3 separate regions of the Homo sapiens genome follow, and all the other regions are linked to region 3. The links are contacts of gene promoters, found by promoter capture Hi-C in blood cells and fetal thymus (Javierre and others, 2016). All regions are on one chromosome and are shown on one strand. Each heading gives the region's core, a stretch centred on a gene start or on the middle of the fragment in contact. The rest is flanking DNA. Distances are from core to core; before and after follow the strand shown. Region 1 overlaps DMBX1 (diencephalon/mesencephalon homeobox 1). Region 2 has its middle 14 kb from the start of LINC01398. Region 3 holds the start of TEX38 (testis expressed 38).

Region 1 (2,700 bases), core at 172-2,671, 160 kb after region 3:
GGCCCAGGCCTGCTGTGGTCAGTCCTTTCTGATGCGCCATGCCCCTGAGGGGCAGTTGATTACTCGCCTCTGACTTGCTTCACACGCTCAGGGCCCCCAGACCCCAGCCCTCCCATGGTACCCCTCAGACCTCACCTGCCTTGGGGCTGCCCCTCTTGCAGCCCAGCCCCTTGCTGTCAGCCCCAGGGCTCTTCTCAGCTTTGGGGTCCTCAGCCCCTGCCCTGGGGTCCTCCTCACGGTCCGGCTGATCCTCGGGGGCTGACTCACTGGCTGACTGCTCAGACAGACTCAGGTGAAGCTCAGCAGGGGGGTCGCTGCCAGGCAGACGTGGGGGCTGCTCAGTGTCCAGCTGGGTATCTGGAGTGGGGGCCTCGGCCTTGCCTTCCCCATGGGAGCCCTCAGCCTCCTTCTGCTTCTGGAGCTGTTCCTTCTGCAGGCTACGCTGCTTCTTCCGGAACTTGGCCCGGCGGTTCTTGAACCACACCTGGGGACGGGAAAGGAGCAGTCCGAGGTGGGCAAGAAAGAAGTGGGGTTGGTGTGGAGCAGGGTGCTCTGGGAGAGGATGTACGTGATAACATCCCCCCACCCCTCTAGGGAATGCACACCCTCTGTCCCTTCCCAAACTCCCCTCCTATCACTGAAGGCTTTGATGGAGAGATCAGTTGCACCTTGGCACAGGGATGACATGCTGGCTCCTGGACAAGCGGGCAGACTGATGGGCTGGTGTTTGTCTGCAAGGCCTAGTTAGGAGAGTTGGGCCCTACCTGCACCCGGGCCTCAGGCAGGTTGGTGCACATGGCCAGCCTCTCACGCATCACCACATCTGGGTAGTGAGTCTTCTGGAAGGTCTTTTCCAGGGCCTCGAGCTGCTGAGCCGTGAACGCTGTGCGGCTGCGACGTTGTTTGCGGTGCTGGGAACCATAACGGGCCTCCAAGATGATGTCTTGAAATGTACAGCCGTTGGAGGGCAAGGAGAGGGGGCCCATTTAATTATGGGAAATAGCTTTGAATCTTATCCTGCTCTGACCCACTGTGGACACCCAGGCTGCTGCCAGAGCTGGCCCTGGTCCCTTACCCTTAGAAATCAGCCATCCCCTCTCCATATGGCTGTGGGCTTTCAAGGTCTCTCCACCCCATTATGCACTATCAGGACCACAGAGGTCTAACTCAACTCCAAAAATGGCTGTCAGGCATATGATTGAGGGGGGTCTTCATTATTTGGCATTGGGATTGGGTAGGTGGGTATTACCCTAAGATGGATACTATGAGTATACTTTGAGACTCCATGATGCTAATAATCTGTAAGTCCATATCACAGGAGTTCTAAGACCCTATAGCCCTTAGATTCTGAATACTAAGACTTCTTTAGCATCAGAGTACTGGTCCCTGCCCATGAGAAGCCAGGCTGGGCTGGTACCCATCTCAAGGTCTAGTCAAGGGAGGACTGACTAGGCAGACAGAATTCACCAGCACTTGATTCTCTGTCCTCTGCATGTAAACCCCCTCATCCCAGCTGGCCTAGAGTCTCTGATGGCAGGGCCTCAGGCTCCTACTCTTCTGTTTCCTGAACAGAGAGCCTGGCTAAGGGGTAAGAGTGGAGCGGGGAGGGTGGGGGTGGCAGGGCTCACGTCTCAGGTAAGGCTTGTTGCACTCAGTCTTGACCCTTGTGGCTGCCTCCCCAAGAACAGAAGGACAAAGAGACCTGGTTCCAACCACTGTGGGTTTGTAGGGGAGACAGGACTATGGACCATTGATTCCACAGTCCTGTCCACATGTCTGGTAACATGATAACCACCCAGGATAGGTGTCTACCTAGGGCCGAGGTCTAGCCTCCATCCTGGGGTATAGCCTTCAGCCCTTTCACTTGACTAGCCCCTGAAGGATAGACAGTAACCGCTCTCCTCACTGCCTCCCATCATGTCATAAGTGGATCCTGCCCTGTTTGTGCTGAAGGGAACTTGAGTCATCTCAGCCTCTGCAAAGGGGTGCCAGAGTCCTTCCCCCGCCCTCCAGGGAATGGGAAGTCATCCACAGCACCCTAAATAGGAAGAGGAGGCCCGGCACAGTGGCTCACGCCTGTAATCCCAGCACTTTGGGCGGGTGGATTACCTGAGGTCAGGAGTTCGAGACCAGCCTGGCCAACATTATGAAACACTGTCACTACTAAAAATACAAAAAATTAGCTGAGCGTGGTGGTGGGCCCCTGTAATCCCAGCTACTCAGGAGGCTGAGGCAGGAGAACCGCTTGAACCCAGGAGGCGGAGGTTGCAGTGAGCCAAGATGGCACCATTGCACTCCAGCCTGGGCAACAAGAGCAAAACTCCATCCCCCCTCCGCAAAAAAAAAAAGAATAGGAAGAGGCAACTGGGTATCCAGGAAGCCCCAGACTTTGAGATACTTCTTCTTCAGTTTAAAAAGAGAGTCCTGAACCCCTCACAGACTGACCTTAATCCTAGGCCTGACTCAGCCCTGAGCTGAGTCATCCTGGGGCAGGGGAAGGAGTGGGGACCGCTCTGTCAGCCCCACTCTGGTTGGGGAAGGAGCAACAGCTCAGCATCCTACTGCTGGCTCCAGGGACTGCAGGGGTGGTGGGGGGTGGGGGGTGGGGGGCGTGTAGGTGTCACAGGGAAGCCAGGCTCTCTAAACCGCCGGCAGAGCCTCTGCTGGAAGGCAAGGCCTCCATACAAAGGCTCACTTGGA
Region 2 (2,700 bases), core at 25-2,524, 240 kb after region 3:
CTCTCACCCAGGACCAGGTGAGACTACCTGGTGTCAAGCATCCTGGAGCAGCCAGGAGGTGAGCTGCACAGCCCTGGCCATGCTAGGGGATGGCTGGATGTAACCATCTGATTCATAGTAGCCAATTCGAAGGGGCCGGTTACTGGTGTAAACCTAGGGGCACAAGGGGCTGGATGGAGCTCGGAGGAGAGATTGTGCTGGGGACAAGGTGGCCCCACTCTATCCAGGAGCCAGACTTTAAGGGCAGGGCCTTGGTCTACAGCTGTCCTCACAAAGGGGGGAATCCATGTGGACACCCCAAGACCCCCTGGGAGCCTCCCTATATACTCTCCAGGCTCTAGGTGCTCTGCGGAAACCCCTGGAGGAAAGAGAAATGGATGAGATGGGTGGTTGGGCAGATGGGGTGGATAGTAGATAGATGGTAGACAGACTCCTGGGTGGGTGGGTGGATGTATGTATGAGATGGTGGGTAGTTGGGTGGGCAGAGGGTTGAATGCATATGTGGGTGAGTGGGTGAATGGATGGTTGGAGTTGAGTGGGTGGGCAGGTGAGTAAGTCATGCATAGACTCAAATATCTTTAAGCTAAAGAAATGTTAGGAGAATATGAGGCTGGAGATCTATAGGGACAAATACCCAGACCAGGGTCTGAGATGGAGGGCCCCTAGTCCTGGGAAGTGGGGTGCTGCCAGAAAGGCAGCCGCCCCTCACCCGTCACACAACACATGTTTGTAGGGGCAAATCATGGATGATATACAATGATCTCAGGTTGATAATGCTAGGAGGGGTGTAGGGAATCCGAGGAACAGACATTGCCGGGACGTAGACAGAAACTGCCCTATGGAGAGGGTTCTGCAGTTAGATAGGGCTGGGTTCAAAGCCAGCTCTGCCAGTTACTAACTACATGATCTTAGGCAAGTCATTTCACTTCCCCTCAGTCTCCCCAGCTGTAAATGGGAGGAGCACTGCTCACTCTATAGAGTGTTAGGATGAGACACGCAGAGCCTGGCACACAACTGGTACAAGCAAATGTTGTTGAATGAATTAACGAATAAATGAAGGCTGCTGTAGACAGAAGGGTGTGGAGTAATCTCCCAGCCTAACCTCTTTATTGTATTGATGGGGAGGCTAAGGCTGAAAGAAGAGATGTGACTTGGCCAGGGTTACCTAGAGGGTTAAAAACCCAGCTTAACTGGATGCCACACCCTCTCAACCACACTTGCTGAGTATTCTAACTGCATGGGTTGGGTATATGGCACTGGAGGCCCTCTTTGGGGGCACTTACAAGCTATGGCTCCAGATAGCCAAGAAGCCAAAGCAGCTGGTGTCCAGCAGGGGAAGGAAACAAACTGGACTGAGCATGTGGGCTTCTCACTCACTGCAGCCTGGGGTGGGAAAGGGGGTCTTCACCTGGGAAGGTAAGATGGCAGACAGGTCAGGGAGGAATGATGGTGGGGGGCAAGGAAACCCCCAGGTCTGCTCTCCCACCTGGCTTACCTCCTCCCTAAAGGGCATCTGGAGCACAGTGGGGTCCAGTCGGTACATGTCTTCACTCAGCAGGGCTTGCAGGCACAGCGCCAGGCTCTCCACGTCCTGGGCCATGGGGCCAGCCACCGTGGTCACTGCACAAAGAGGAGGGGAGAGAGGCAGGCACCTCTCGTTTTGTTTGCTTGTTGTGTTTTGTTTTTTGTTTGTTGGTTTTTGAGACGAAGTTTTTCTCTGTCACCCAGGCTGGAGTGCAGTGGCACCATCTCTGCTTACTACAACCTCCACCTCCCGGGTTCAAGTGATTCTCCTGCCTCAGCCTCCCCAGTAGCTGGAATTACAGGTGCCCGCCACCACACCTGGCTAATTTTTGTATTTCTAGTAGAGACGGGGTTTCACCATGTTGGCCAGGCTGGTCTCGAATTCCTGACCTCAAGTGATCGCCCACCTCAGCCTCCCAAAGTGCTGGGATTACAGGCATGAGCCACTGCGCCCAGCAAGCACCTCTCATTTGTTGTGCCCTGGGGATCCCAACTGCCTGGCCTCAGAGGGTGGGTTCCAGGGTCATGGTCAGGACGAAGGAAGAGATTAAAGCTAGATAGCAGGACAAAAGCCCTTCTCAGAGGGCCAAGAGTCACTGGACAAGGGGAGGCCAGGTGGGAACCATGCAGTCTGCCCTCTCAGTCATCATCTGTGGGGCTGATCTGTCTGGAGATATGAGCTGAGCAAAATGTCCTTGGGAGAAAGACTGGCAGTTTCATCTTTAAATGGGGTGGCCACAGGCACAGACCAGGACTTACCCGATTTTTTTCCCCTTGATGGCAGAGGCAATTCCAGTGTAGCTGCAAAACATTCCGACCCAGAGCCCAGCTCAGCATGTGAAGGGAGGGGCCTGGGTGCTAGGAGGCTTGAGCACCCAGGCGATGTGCTCCCCCAGGGCGCAGCCCACAAAAATAGGAGCTGCTTCAACATTCCCTGACCCTCTGCTGCCCACAGCATAGTCTGATCTCTTTGACTGCTTTTCAAGACTCTAACTCTCCATGGCTTCCCCTTCTAGCCCTTCCACACGTGCATATTGCTGCAGGCAAAGTCAGCCGCTTACAAACAATCTTACAGCCTTCTAGACGCCACATCATCTTGGCATGTCTGGCCCTCAAAACCACGCTCAAATGCTGCCTCCTCCAGGAATCCTTCCCTTCCCTTGCCCTGCCTCTGAA
Region 3 (2,700 bases), core at 142-2,641:
GTGGAGCCAGCTGCAGTGCAGGTTGCAGGGGAGCAGGGGCTTCCGCCTTGGGGTTGCTGTCTTGGTCAGCATGGCTCCTGCCTTCGGGGATGTCCAAATCCCACAGAACATCTGGATTCTGGACCTCAGTCTCAGTCTTGGTGACAGCAGGGGCAGGGCCCGTGTTGATGGCTGCATTCATGCCGTAGCGCCGTCGCTTGTTAATCCAGTACAACAATGGGCTGTAGGTGAATGTGGCAGCTCTCATCACCTCCACCCACTGCTGGGCATGCTCTTCCCGCCTCAAGTTCTTCCTCCAGTGCAGAAAGATAATGCACCCTCCAGTTATCACAGAACACAGCCCCAGGATTCCAAAGTACAATGAGACCCACACTAAGGCAGCAAGAAAGAAAAAGAGGCATGCTGGCTGATAGCTGTAGCTTGGGGCCTGAGCTGTTTCTCATTCCTCTTTCACTTAACCCATGCATCAATCGCTCCATCCACTTAACTACTCTCACCGTTCCTTCCCTCCCTTATTGACTTGCCTCATCATTCCCTTATTCAGTCAAAGCTAGATTTCCAGGGAGCTTAAGCACCACCTTTAACTCTTTACAGATCACAAAAGCTAGGTCTAGCGGGGGCATGTGCTGCCCAGGCTCAGTCAAGCCTCTGATTCCTAACCCAGGACCCATCCAATCCATCAGACTGAGAAGTTTCACTATGGGCAAGTCCATCAAGAAGCAAAAGTTCACCAGCACTTTGTGAGGCCCAGGTGGGCAGATCACTTGAGGTCAGGACTTCAAGTCCAGCCTGGCCAACATGGTGAAACCCCGTCTCTACTAAAAATTTTAAAATTAGCCAGGTGTGGTGGTGCATGCCTGCAGTCCCAGCTACTTCAGAGGCTGAGGCAGGAGAATCACTTGAATCCAGGAGGTGGAGGTTACAGTGAGCCTAGATTGAGCCACTGCACTCCAGCCGGGGCAACAGAGCAAAACTTCATCTCAAAAAAAAAAAAAAAAGTGAAAGTTCATCAGTTGACAGAGACACCAATGTCCCATCCCATTCCATTCAGCTGTGATAGTCCTGGGCTATTGATAGTATCTTCTCTGGTTGATCAGAGCATGGTCTTTGCCTTAAAATAATTCTTAGTTTTCTAGAGTAGACTATCTCCTAACTGCTTAGCTCTCCTCCAGGCAGCCAGGCACTGTCCCATCCATGCAAAGGGCCTTCCCTGAGTGTTTGTCCCCAAGCCCTAAGGCACAAGTCCAGTGACAGGGACTGGAGGAGCACTTACTCCCAGGGAAGCGCAGGTCCTCCTGTTGGGAATCCATACAGCTGAGCTTTGGTACCTGGCCGATGGCTCTGGGGAGAGGGAACTCACCCACCCATCTGCCCAGCCAGTCAGCCCATCTGCCCAGCCAATCAGAGTCTCCAGAATGCCCAGGCCCTTTGTTCTCTAAAGGAGAGGTCACTGGGTTCTGAGAATTGGGCATTCTAGGGGCAGTGCTTGTGAAGTGGTCCTGGGTTAATGGAAGGAGGGGACTTCATCCAGTGGCATTTTTTGGGTGGAATGTCACTACTACTTCCATCAGAGACTGGTTCACCTATTGAATTGTCTGTACCTACCCCTTATGGTGAACCCACAGAGCAGACCCCAGAAAAGGGCCATTGTCCCTCAGGTACTTACGGATGTTGCTGGTCTTTAGGGAACGGTTGATGGGATACCTGTCCCCAGTGAGGAATGTAACAAGGAACACACAGCATTGGGCAGCCCTGTTCTCAAAAAGTATCTAACCAAGTTGGCAGGAAGAAACCTGCTCAAGGGAACCAAGTGGTCAATACCTCCTTCTTTGGCTCCAACAATCTGTCTTTTATTTAATTACCTTCCTTCAAGTGCTGACAAGTGTTTCCCAGGCCCCAGGCCCTGTGGGGCTTCCCACCATCTGGCCTGCATCTACTTCCAGCCTTACTTCCCTCCTCGTCCTCCACACACTTTTCCCTTTTGCCTAGTCCGTACTCCTGAACAGACCCTGCTCATTCACATCTCTGGAGGTGTGCCCATGCTGCTCCTTCACCCAGGAGTGCCCCTGCCCACTTTTCCACCACTGAACACCTGCTCATCCTTCAAGACTCAGCTCAGCCCCCCTACTCTGTGACAGACTGCCCAGAATCATATCATCGCCAATTTGAAGAAACTTTGAGAGTTGTCTAGTTCATCTCCACCATCTGATCCCACCATCAGGGCCATGCTTGACTCCTGGGGGTAGATTTTTCCCCACACAGCAACTAATCTCCCTGGACTCAAGACTCACTTGAGTCAGGAACTTGCTCACCACCTCCTGAGGCAGCTTGATGCATTTATGGGCAGCTCAGTTAGAAAGCCCTTCCCTAATTAAGCTTAAGTCAGCCTTCCCAGTATGTTGCACCACTGCTTGTAGCTCAGCTTCTTAGCACCATTTTAATGACTCCCCTCTTTATAGTCCTCCAATGTGTGACTTAGGGAACTATTTAGCACAGAATTCTCTCCAGGGTCCACTTACCCTTGTTCTCCTCGTATATCACTGGCCCCTACTTTCCAGTCTCCTTTGCTGGTTTCTCCCTTTTCCCCTGATCTCTAAATGTAGGCATGTCTAGGGCTCAGTTCTTAGTGCTCTATCTACATTCATTCCATCAGTTATCTCACCCAGACCCCTGGCTTTAAATATCACTATACACTGACAG

Evidence for each region. Contacts are between HindIII fragments. The CHiCAGO score rates a contact against its expected background, and 5 or more counts as called.
Region 1: a contact is called between a fragment that was not itself captured here and the fragment with the promoter of TEX38 in region 3, in 1 of 17 cell types (neutrophils). The highest score is 5.4, in neutrophils.
Region 2: a contact is called between a fragment that was not itself captured here and the fragment with the promoter of TEX38 in region 3, in 2 of 17 cell types (erythroblasts and megakaryocytes). The highest score is 6.0, in erythroblasts.

Annotation. Positions count from the first base shown.
Region 1 is chr1:46,508,719-46,511,418 of GRCh38, reverse strand. DMBX1 (diencephalon/mesencephalon homeobox 1) reads right to left here. Exons shown (of 6, transcript NM_172225.2): 4 at 765-943; 5 at 136-484. Among named protein-coding and RNA genes, the nearest start is that of DMBX1, 20 kb to the right of the region's middle. The HindIII fragment of the contact is 5,483 bases long and covers 1-2,700 here.
Region 2 is chr1:46,434,832-46,437,531 of GRCh38, reverse strand. It overlaps the pseudogene FAAHP1. Among named protein-coding and RNA genes, the nearest start is that of LINC01398, 14 kb to the left of the region's middle. The HindIII fragment of the contact is 2,886 bases long and covers 1-2,700 here.
Region 3 is chr1:46,670,545-46,673,244 of GRCh38, reverse strand. TEX38 (testis expressed 38) reads right to left here and starts at 1,391. Exons shown (of 2, transcript NM_001145474.4): 1 at 1,274-1,391; 2 at 1-372. The coding sequence starts at 1,310. The HindIII fragment of the contact is 3,767 bases long and covers 1-2,378 here.